Linked DNA regions of Homo sapiens: all the other regions are linked to region 1. The links are contacts of gene promoters, found by promoter capture Hi-C in blood cells and fetal thymus (Javierre and others, 2016). All regions are on one chromosome and are shown on one strand. Each heading gives the region's core, a stretch centred on a gene start or on the middle of the fragment in contact. The rest is flanking DNA. Distances are from core to core; before and after follow the strand shown. Region 1 holds the start of DENND5A (DENN domain containing 5A). Region 2 overlaps SWAP70 (switching B cell complex subunit SWAP70). Region 3 overlaps NRIP3 (nuclear receptor interacting protein 3). Region 4 overlaps ZNF143 (zinc finger protein 143).

Region 1 (2,795 bases), core at 161-2,660:
AGTCAACAGGATAATCACTTTCGAAAGAGAAACTTTACAGTGACAGAAAAGTGAAAAGGAGTCCCCCTCATCAGGATGACACAACCTTAAAGTACAACCCGACAAACCTCCACCCACTTGAAACCCACTAACTGGAAACTCCAGACAAAAACTTATTTTCAAAACTGTTACAATTCAAAGACTCCAATGACAGTGCAGTGGAAAATTCACGGGGACTGTATAATTTTCACGGCCTTCTGCAGTGAGTGCCAAATCTGGTCAGGGCCCCATCTTTGACTCCCCTCATCACTTTCCCTTTCAAATATGACTTGAAACGCATCAGAACACACCAAGCCTCTCCAACTACAATGCTGCTACCCTTTTATTCACAAACGCCTCTGTCCTCATAAAGGACATAAATTACTTTTCAAAAAAGGCATGGCCCCGGGATACAAGCCCTTTCCAAGGCTAAGGGAGTTCCTACTCTTCTTGGTGCCGCCCAAGTTCACTTTATTACTTCATATCCCATCCAGACGCGCAGAGCTGCAATCTGACTCAGGGGGCCCAGCCCAGGGCTGGGGTATAACGGTTTTGAGGAACTAGTATCACAAGCTTCTTGGGAAGTGGCCAGATAAACTCACCAAGTTTTTGTTTTCCTTTTTTTTAAGTCTGGGTGGAACTTACTTTCACTAGGACGTGGGACGCCTTCCCTCCCTAATGGGTGCCAGAGGACAAGCTTTCCTTTATTTTAAACGAAGTCACTCAACCTACACCAAACTGAGAACACACAACCCTCCCTCTTTCTGGTCGCCGAAGACGTGGCCACTGCGCAGCGGGCCGTAGGTTTGGACCCCTCATGGCTCAGAGCCCCTCATCCGTTTCCCCCCTCCAGTCCAAAGCCCCCTTCGCCCGCGCCCGCCCTGGTCCTCCCGGCCGACACTCGCCCGGCTCCCGGGACAAAGCGGGGCTGAAGGAAGGTTTCTTCTGGGGTCCCCGACGACAGCGGGCGCGGGAAAGCGCCCCGGGCTCGGCGCGCACTCACCCGACAGCTCGTCCGGCTCCAGCCCGGTCTCCGTGTCCAGTCCGCAGATGACAAAGTAGTCGGCGAAGCGACTGGGCGCCGAGCCCCCTCCGCCGCCGCCGCCACTCATGGCGCCGGGGCCGAGACCGGCCGGGCAGTGCGGAGCGGCACCGAGCCCCCGCAACCCGGGCGCCCGCCCGTCCGCCCTCAGGCCGCCCCTCCCGCCGCCGCCGCTACCGCGGCTCGGGCCGCCGCCCCCGGCCCTGGCCCGGTCCCCTCGGCCGCCGCGGCTGCCGTGACGGGGCGGGGGGGCACCGGGCCGCCCCGCACCGCATCCTGGATGCCTTCCCCTCCGCGCCGCCGCCGCTGCAGCTAGCCGAGAGCGCCGCGGCCCGAGCGAGCCTGGAGAAGGGCGGAGAGCGCGTGGACAGCCCCCACCGTGACCCTCCTCCTACCGCGCCTGCGCAGGCGCCGTCTGGGAGGGGGCGGGCTCCTGGGGGAAAGGATGACGTGATGCTCTTCGGACCCCGCCGGCCGCAGCTTCCCGGGAGGTCGCCGCAGCGCAGCCGGTGACTGCTTGGTCGCCCGCAACTGCCACTCCCCCGGGATTGAGACTCCTTTAGGGAGGGCTGAGGAGGTGCGAGAAGAGTGGGCGCAGCCTGCAGAGCCGGGCATTTGGCCCATGCTCTGCCCCCAACCACCCACCCAGCAAGCAGAGGTCCAGAGATCTTAGCGCGGCCTTGCCATGAGGATGGGGTCTCACGACTGAGCTCGGAAGCTCACCTAATCCTAGCTGCAGCGTGTCAGCCTAGACCCCAGACAGGGCCTTCTCCCTGTCCTCTCTTTTGGCAGGGGCGGATGAGCCGGTTTTATATTTACCCTTATTTTACAGACGGGGAAACTGAGTCTCAGAAAGAAGCAAGGACTTATCCAAGGTTACGCTGAGTCTAAGAGACATAAGCCTGGTCTGGAATCCTGGGCTTGTGGTCAGCTCCCCGTTCCTCGCCGCTCCCACCTCCCAGCCTGCCCTTTTCCCACGCTCTCTCCTTTTTTCTCTGGAAGCCTCCAGAGGCGCCTGCCATTTGGGAGCTCCTCTTCCTCTTCACTCTGTGAAAACTCTCAGATCCACCCCTAAACCTGTTTTCCTGTAAGAGGATAGGGAGGAGGCGAAGGGAAACTTACCTATTGGTCCTTGTCCTAGGACCCTCCGATTTCCTTTCCCATAGAAGCTAGGCAGATGTGTCTTTGTTGGAAACTGGAGATCAGAGGCCAGAAAGGCAACACAGGTATAGTGGTCACTAGCATGGGCTCTAGAAAAAAATGCTCGGATTTCAATCCTGACGATCATTTACTTTTGACCTTGAGCAAGTTAATCTCTAAGTGCCTGGCGTCATGGTTTTTGAGACAATTACATAAGGTAAATGCAAGTACAGGTAAAACAATGAGAATACTGCCTGGAACATGGAAATCACTCAGTAAATATTACAGATTTTTTTTTTCAAGACGGAGTTCTGTCTTGTTGCCCAGGCTGGAGTGCAATGGCGTAATCTCGGCTCACTGCACCTCTGCCTCCCAGGTTCAAGTGATTCTCCTGCCTCAGCCACCCAAGTAGCTAGGATTACAGGCGCGCACCACCACACTCGGCTAATTTTTTGTATTCAGTAGAGACAGGGATTCACCGTGTTGGTCAGGCTGGTCTCGAACTCCTGACCTCAGGTGATCCGCCCTCCTCTGCCTCCTAAAGTGCTGGGATTACAGGCATGAGCCAATGAGCCCCCAGCCTGGATTATTATTA
Region 2 (2,795 bases), core at 197-2,696, 480 kb after region 1:
ACCTAGAAGAAAAGTCCCTCCCTCCTCGTGTCCCTTCAGCACCCTCTACTGACAAAGCTTTATGCTGCCAGCTAGTGAGGAGAATTATTTTAGTTTCACCAGCAGGACAGTTCAGGGTGGATTTGGAGTGGAGAGGCAGTAAACTGTAACTGGCACACAGGGCCATACACCCATTGTAATTCGTATGCAGATGGTGGAAGAATAGGCTTTGGAATCAGACAGCCTGGGTTCCAATTCTGGCTCTACCATTTCCTGCTGTGTGACTCTCGGCAGGTTACTGACCTTCTCTGAACCCGTTTTCACTCTGTACAATGGGGTAATAGTAGTTCCCACTTCTTAGAATGGGCTATGAGAGGATTTAATGAGATAATTCACAAATACATAGTAAGGGCCCAATAGTTGTGATTTGGTTCTTAAACTACCCGTGTGTCTGCATAGTCCAAAATCCACTTTTGTTTCAGGAAGTTAAAAAGAAGCTGGAGATGGCAACTAATAAGACCAAGAGCTGGAAGGACAAAGTGGCCCATCATGAAGGATTAATTCGACTGATAGAACCAGGTAACAGACTCTATGAAGTAATCATATATTTATTTTTATTTTTCATTTTTATTTTATTTAATTAATTTATTTATTTTGAGATGGAGTCTCGCTCTGTCGCCCAGGCTGGATGGAGTGCAGTGGTGCGATCTTGGCTCACTGCAAGCTCCGCCTCCTGGGTTCATGCCATTCTCCTGCCTTAACCTCCCAAGTAGCTGGGACTACAGGTGCCCGCCACCACGACCGGCTAATTTTTTGTATTTTTAGTAGAGACGGGGTTTCACCGTGTTAACCAGGATGGTCTTGATCTCCTGACCTCGTGATCCGCCCGCCTCAGCCTCCCAAAGTCCTGGAATTACAGGCGTGAGCCACCACGCCCTGCCCATATATTTATTTTTAAATTTATTTTTCTGTTTCACTTGTGTATTTGAATTGTACTAAAGAAACTTTTTTAGCCCAAATGTAAAAAAACCAAGCTGTTCAGGATAAATTTCTCTTGAAAATCTTATCCCCTAATAGGTAAGAGGGCCCAGTTAATCCCCTTGGTATACATCTTCTAATTGTTTTAGCTGGTATGACATTTATGCATGTTCCTCAAAGAAGAAATAAAGTAGGGAAGTTACTATTTTGTCTGTAGAAAAATGATGGGGTATCCTGAAGAATATAATACTTCCTGTATTTAAAGCATGTTTGCCTCTTAGGTTCAAAGAACCCTCACCTGATCACTAACTGGGGACCTGCAGCTTTCACTGAGGCAGAACTTGAAGAGAGAGAGAAGAACTGGAAAGAGAAAAAGACCACGGAGTGACTGAGCTTGCTGGCAGTCACGTCAGTTATGTAGATACTGCATGGCAGGAGAGCTTTACGCTAAAGACAAAAGAAACAGCTTTGGGGGCCGGGCGTGGTGGCTCACGCCTGTAATCCCAGCACTTTGGGAGGCCGAGGCGGGTGGATCACCTGAGGTCAGGAGTTCAAGAGCAGCCTGGCCAACCTGGTGAAACCCTGTCTCTACTAAAAATACAAAAAAAATTAGCTGAGCGTGGTGGCGGGCGCCTGTAATCCCAGCTACTTGGGAGGCTGAGGCAGGAGAATCACTTGAACGTGGGAGGCGGAGGTTGCAGCGAGCTGAGATCATGCCGTTGTACTCCAGCTTGGGCAACAGAGTGAGACTCCATCTCAAAACAAAACAAAACAAAACAAAACAAAAAAACCCGGCTTTGCTGCTTTTAACTCTTCTTCCTTCTGTGCCTCTCTAAGTGGGTCAGTATCCTAAGGAAGCCTTCTTATTTATCTTCCTGCAAACAAGGGTTACCTGAAAAGAAAAAAAAAGTCAACATTGTCAAGCTGTTTGTTTACTCTTTCTTTGAAAACATCACCTTCTGAAATTTGTCTTTTAGCTCTCTCAGATTCTTCCCCAAATGAGGCAGGGTGCAGACAGCACAGTCAGCTCTGCAGAGTTTGGAGGGGCTCACTGCCACTGGGTACTCAGAACCTCTGTGGACTGGATGTCAGCTCTTTCCTTTGGCAGCGTGTTTCCTTTTCCGAGTATGTGCTGTTAAACTAGATTGGCCGGTTCGCTTTCCATTTCCTGACACTTGACATGGAATGCCTTTGACCATTGGTGCTCTGACAGAGAAGTCATGGAGTCATTGCCATTTCCTGGTTGCCCTTTTGGAATGTGATCCTGTTAGTAGAGGTTTTCTAGCTTCTACTAAGATATTTCTTTCCCTAACCATCATACACTTGGCATGTTTCATTCCCATCTCCTTTCCCCTCACCTTAAAGGAGACTACCCCTTTGCCCCATATTGTCAACCTAATTTTCTCTCGTACTCTCTCTAGTGAATGATGTGCTACCAAGTATATGCCAGGCTGTGAGAGGATTATACTGAGTAGTAGAAAGAAGCTAATTTGAAATAAAAATTATTTGTATAATTAAGAAAGCAGATTAGATGCACATGGTCAACAGGAAGTTGACTGTATGTCTGCTAGTTAGATTCAAAACATCATAAAGATGATAGCATGTCAATATATTAGCCTAGCCATTATGTTAGCCTTTGTTAGGTGGGCAGCTTTTCTGCTTTTTCCCTTCCTCTGTGGTGACAACGGAGGAAATATCCAACAGAAATACGTCTAACAGGGAAATTGGGATCATAGTTTATATGCATCTGATTTGAAAGGAGTATTGAGGAAGGTTTTCATATATGATCTATCTTTGGATTAAAAAGAACATTTATGAAATCAAGCCTTCTAACACTA
Region 3 (2,795 bases), core at 141-2,640, 270 kb before region 1:
GGATTGCTTGAGCCCAGGAGTTCAAGACCAGACTGGGCAACATGGTGAAATTCTGCCTCTACAAAAAATACAAAAATTAGCCAGGCATGGTAGTGCACGCCTGTAGCCCCAGCTACCTGGGAGGCTGAGGTAGGAGACTAATTTGAGCCTAGAAGGTGGAGGTGGTAGTGAGCCAAGATCACACCACTGCACTCCAGCCTGGGCAACAAAGCGAGACCCTGCCTCAAAAAAAAAAAAAAAAAAAAAGTAAGACTAGATAGATAGTGATGAAAACAGTTAATTAAGAAATAGCAGTATCACCATTTACTTGGAGATATGGAGATCCCTAACACAAGCAACAGCTTTAAATTTTTAAAAGTTTTAAATTATTTACATTTTTAAAAATTTTAAATAAAAATATACCCCATGTAGCAGAAAAGAGTTCAGCCACAAGAAAAGCCAACTTACCGTAGTTTAAATGGAGATTTATTTTTCTCACATAACAAGAAGTCTAGACATAGAAGCTGCTGATACTAACTCAGCAGCTTAACAACTTCAGGGCTATTGACTCTGTTAATTCTCTTGGACATTCCTTCATGGTCACAGATGAATACCCCAGCTCCAGGCATTATATCCACATTCAAGAAATGAGGAAGGAGGAGGGACTACACTAACACCATCAATTGCTTTTATCAGAAAAGGAAAAGCTTTCCCAGAAGTTCCTTCAGCAGTTTTTTGCCCATATCTTCTTGGTCAGAACTCATATGGCCACTCCTAGCTCTAACAGACATTGGGAGAGAATTTAGCTTTTATAATCTCTATAGAGGAGTTCAGCATAAAGAAAAGGGCTAAGGATGGGTGATAATTTAGCCAACTAACAGTGTCTGCCAGATGCAAAAACTAAAGCATGTGCACACACACAATGTAACTTAGGCAGGTATAATGCCAGGTTATCTTATAACCAGCTTAGCATCTATTTTCTTATGTCTGCCCTACTTTCTGCATTTTAAAACAGCACATCCTTGACAGACAAGTTTGTGGTATAAGCATACCTTAACTATTTACTAATGGGCATTTAGATTATTTTCATATGTTTGCCATTAGAAACAATGCTGCAATAAACTCAACATTTCATTTATCCTGAAACGCTCCTCCACTGGCCTCTAAAACCACCTGTTTATTCTGTTCCTGTCTCTCTCACTGGTTCCTTTGCCTATGTTCATTTCTTAAATGTTAGTGTTCCTCATCGCTCTATCTTTGGTCCTTTGTCACTCTACATATACTCCCAGGGCAATTTTATCTGTTTTCATTGCATAAATTACTACCTTTATGATGATGACTCTATCTCATGTCCAGATGTCACCTCAATTCTAGACCCATAGATCCAACTGCCTTTTTCAACTTCTCTACTTAGATATTCCACAGGCACTTCAAATGTAAATTATCCCACTGATATTTTCTATCAAACTTGCGCATTCTCCCTTATTCCCTATCTCGGTGGGTGAAATTCTGCCTCCTCTTATTTTCTTCTTCATTTACGTTACTGCTAAGCCCAATCTCCTAACATTACTTTCATGGTCCTCTTCCCCCACAGTGGTTCTCTTGCTAGTTGTAACAAAGAAAAATCCTCAATTTACCATTCAAGACCTTCCACTACCATTCATCCTCCTTCCCAATCTCATCTTTTTAATTACTACTCCATGAAGGCTTTCTGCTTTCAGCAAATTACCACTTGTCACATATTAGCTTGGGCAAATCACTAACCTCTATGAGCATTACTTTTCTCCAAACCTTACTCTCTTGATCAGTCATAAAGGAGGTTTGAACTCCAAAGACTTGTTCAGTTTTAACATATTGGGTTAATTCCTTTCCAACAACCTTGGTAAGTGGCACCACCATACATCCATTCTTGATTTTTTCATTTCCTGACCTCCCATCAAAAGTGATATTGTACTCTGAAACACACCTGGAATTGATCTGCTTCTCCCCATCTTTACTACCTCCAATCTAATCCAAACCACTATAATTTCTTATCTGTACTGTCACAGCCTCCTAACTTGCATTCTGCCTCTTCTTTTACCCTTCTCCAGTCCATTCTTTGCATGGAAACCAGAGTAAGCTTTTTAAAACATAAGTCAGGTAATACAGTACTTTACTCAAAACCCTTCAATGGCTTCCCATTGTTCTTCAGAAAAAATCCAAACTTTTTACCCTTCTCTATACAGCTCTGTACCAACTGGCCCTTGCCTCTCCTTCCATATACAAACCACTCTCCCTTTATTCATTCAGATTCAACACCATCCACACTCACTTCCTTGCTCAAAATTTCTTTCCCATTCCAATCCCTTTGCACTGGCTGTCCCCTCTGCCTGAAATGTTCTTCCCCTAACATTTCTAATAGTTAGGTCCCTCTTATCTTCCAGGTCTCTGTTCAAATGTCATTTCCTCAGAGATACCTTCCTTGACCATACAACTTAAAGTAGGTAGGTCACCTTTTTAGTTACTAACAAATCTCACTATTTCTTTCATAGTAATTATCAATATGAAATTATTTTGTGTATTTACTTGTTTATATTTCACCCCTGCCCTACCAGCATGTTAACTGCACAAGGGCAGGGACCATGACTGTCTTGATTTCAGCTATATCCTCAGCTCTTGACATAGTACTGAAAGAAATCTCTACCCCTTCTTTCTTCAAAAAGCCTTTTTTTCCTTTTTTTTTTTTTTTTTTTTTTTTGAGATGGAGTCTCACTCTGTCTCCCAGGCTGGAGTGCAGTGGCGCAATCTTGGCTTGCTGAAATCTCCACCTCCTGGGT
Region 4 (2,795 bases), core at 99-2,598, 260 kb after region 1:
ACAGAGAGAAGTTTCACTTCTGGCATATAACATTTCTTTGGCATTTTCTTGACTGTGGCTTTTGAATTGTTAGCGTTTGATGTGTGTGTTCCTGTTTCAGCTTGGAGAACAGCCATCTCTGGAAGAAGCCATCAGAATAGCGTCTAGAATCCAACAAGGAGAAACGCCAGGGTTGGATGATTAATCCTCAGAACAATGGAGCAATAAAGCAGAAGGAGTCTTTCATCTTCTGGCAGCAGAAATCCATGAAGCCCGGGCCCAGGAAAATTAGAAGTTTTCCATTCCTGATACACTGTACACATTTTTATGCGAGAGTGGAGAACATTTTATTCTTGACACTTTTGTGTATATAACCCTTGGAATAGATTCTCAGAGTGATTCATTGTGTACAAGGAAGTATGAAATTAGGGCAATACAGTAAATTTTCATGTTACTCTTTTATCAGATCACAAACTCCTAGAGTCTACATGCAAGACTAGTAAAGTCTTATGGAGTCTTATGATGGATTTTTAACTTCCCGTGGAAAAAAAAATAAAGGCTGTATCTAAAATATCAAAGGTTCTATATGTCACACAATCGTAATTCCAAAAGCCATTATGGATAATAAAGGGTGTAAAGCCTTCAGATATTTCCCCAGTTAGTAGAGTGTCTGCGGTTTTTGTTCTACTATATGCTTGTCCATTTTTATTTGTATCTCATGGTTTGCAGACTGTTTGAATAATTTATAGTTTCCCATCCCTGTTAAAAACCAGCTCTTCAAGCTGAAATGCTAATTATATTGGCATTACATTGAATTATGTACAAAATTATAAAATTTGGTTATTTAAAATTAAAAAGTTAAATCCAGTGGTTTTGTTAAAGATTTTGCTTAGTATTCAATTTTTATTACTGTTTTTTAAAAATAATGAATCATCAAAGTTTAACCACAGGCTGGTGCCCGGGATAACAGTACTGTAATTGGAAATGGCTTTACTCTGAAAATTAGGTTAGTGGGTTGGTGTAAATTATTTATTTTTGCTTATGTACTTTTGTTTTAAAGCTTATTTACCCCAAAGTTTATTATTAATTTTGAATACAGCAATTTTTAAAATGTTACTTTTATATTTATTTATTTATCATATTGGTGGGGGGTTGGGGGGAAATGGTGCAGAAAATATCGCAAATGTAATGGAATGTAACCTAATACACATATTGAAAGGATGTTGTTTATCAAGTACAGAGTAAGTGCTTTTCCATATATTTTTATATATTCACAACAATTTTGTGAGACATATGGGATTTACTACCTCCGTTTTTTACATGAGGAAACCAAGAGTCCAGGAGGGAGGCTGACTGTCGTACCAGCCCTCACAGCTATGGAGAGGCAGGACCAAGACGAGAACCCAGACTTTCTGGCTCCAAGTCTAGTGTGTTTTCACTGCACCACAGTTACCTCCTCAAATGCTCATTTGTGGCAGAGATTATCAAGATGAACTTTGGTGATTTCTGATTGCCTAATGAATTGAGCAGTATAAAAACCATTTTCTAATGCTGGAAAATCAGCGTTCACCAAGGTCAAAAAAAAAAAAAAAAAGATGGTGTGTTCCGCAGCAGCCCCTCCTGCACTGTAGTTCAGCGAGCTTTATTTGCAGAGAGCTGAAATGTGGCTTTTTCATTTCAAGCTTTACAGTAGAAAGGGGAAAACGTTGTGCTGTTTGATTTTACATAAATGTTATCTTTGATCAGGTTCTATGATCTTGCTAAAAAGGATGGTGACTTACTTGAAATCGGAAGCCCTTCAGGGTTGGGCAGAACTTTTCCTGCAGAACCCTTTACAGATGCATAACATTAGCAAAAGCCCTAGTCAACCACCGATCGAGTCTTCATTCTTGACAGAGACACAGACCCACACAGAACTCCCCCCGGAAGCCCACTGAGGCTCAGAAAGGGGCTGTTGGGCGGGGTAGAAGACCAGAATCTGCAAAATCGCAGGCAGGGTGGCGCCCAGCCTCCCAGTGCTGGTCCTGGCTGCTGGCCAGGAGCTCCTCCCCACTGGGCCCAGCCAGGCTGCTGTACTTCCCAGGACCAAAAACCAAGCTGTCAGCCTCCCATGGCCCCTTAGATCTGACTTTGCTCAAATTCCAGGGTGTTTCTCTTTACTCCCAGCACCTTTGCCAGTTGGATTGGGCAGGGCTTAACCTGGACTGTTTTGGTTAGCCTGATTATCCCTCAGCTCAAAAGAAAATGACCTCTGGCACCCAGAGAAAAGGGCCTAGGGTCGCTGCTAGTTTAACCTGACCTGCCTTCTTGGGAATGGGGCCTCAGGAGCCTGGCAAGGTGGCCTGTTTCCTCCAGGGGAAGGGTGCAGTTGGTGTGCTGACAATTGCTAGGAAAGCTGCTATAGGGTCTCTTCACAGTGCAGGACATGGAAACGTCCAAGGTTGAAAAATCCCAAAAAGACACTTGAAATAAGAGTAAACGCTAGCAAACAGAACCAGGTGGGGCATAACCCTCTGGAATTTGATCCAGACAGTGCTCAAGGAAAACCTCTCCGTCCAAAAAAACCACCCTGCTTTGCCCCAGACAAAGCTTGAGGCCACTACAAAGAAAATGTGCCCTAGTCTGAACTCAAAAGAACTTAGAGTTAAGGGAGGGACGAGGCTTTCTTAATTCTCTAGAGGTGACAGCTGCCCAGAGAGCCAGATCTCTCCTTCCCCTCCTACCCACCCCCAGGCCTTCAGGGCAAACTAACTTTGTACAGTGTCTCTTGCTTGCTGCTTGCCTTCCCGTGTGACAGCCCTGGGGCTAGGTAAGCA

The links. The method cuts DNA at HindIII sites, captures the fragments that hold promoters and counts their contacts. A CHiCAGO score of 5 or more calls a contact.
Region 2: a contact is called between a fragment that was not itself captured here and the fragment with the promoter of DENND5A in region 1, in 1 of 17 cell types (erythroblasts). The highest score is 5.5, in erythroblasts.
Region 3: a fragment that was not itself captured here is called in contact with the fragment with the promoter of DENND5A in region 1 in 1 of 17 cell types (M1 macrophages); the score reaches 5.7 in M1 macrophages.
Region 4: a contact is called between a fragment that was not itself captured here and the fragment with the promoter of DENND5A in region 1, in 3 of 17 cell types (megakaryocytes, erythroblasts and M2 macrophages). The highest score is 7.4, in megakaryocytes.

What each region holds. Positions count from the first base shown.
Region 1 is chr11:9,263,940-9,266,734 of GRCh38, forward strand. DENND5A (DENN domain containing 5A) reads right to left here and starts at 1,411. Exons shown (of 23, transcript NM_015213.4): 1 at 1,022-1,411. The coding sequence starts at 1,130. RefSeq lists enhancers at 1-282, 443-562, 1,643-1,712 and silencers at 853-1,212, 1,263-1,362. The HindIII fragment of the contact is 8,855 bases long and covers 714-2,795 here.
Region 2 is chr11:9,748,626-9,751,420 of GRCh38, forward strand. SWAP70 (switching B cell complex subunit SWAP70) reads left to right here. Exons shown (of 12, transcript NM_015055.4): 11 at 462-558; 12 at 1,239-2,795. The coding sequence ends at 1,345. Among named protein-coding and RNA genes, the nearest start is that of SBF2-AS1, 8.3 kb to the right of the region's middle. The HindIII fragment of the contact is 2,782 bases long and covers 56-2,795 here.
Region 3 is chr11:8,993,584-8,996,378 of GRCh38, forward strand. The region is part of intron 1 of NRIP3 (nuclear receptor interacting protein 3); the gene reads right to left. Among named protein-coding and RNA genes, the nearest start is that of NRIP3, 9.0 kb to the right of the region's middle. The HindIII fragment of the contact is 1,412 bases long and covers 685-2,096 here.
Region 4 is chr11:9,527,430-9,530,224 of GRCh38, forward strand. It overlaps ZNF143 (zinc finger protein 143), which reads left to right. Exons shown (of 16, transcript NM_003442.6): 16 at 101-1,095. The coding sequence ends at 184. Among named protein-coding and RNA genes, the nearest start is that of WEE1, 45 kb to the right of the region's middle. RefSeq lists an enhancer at 2,227-2,795. The HindIII fragment of the contact is 622 bases long and covers 1,038-1,659 here.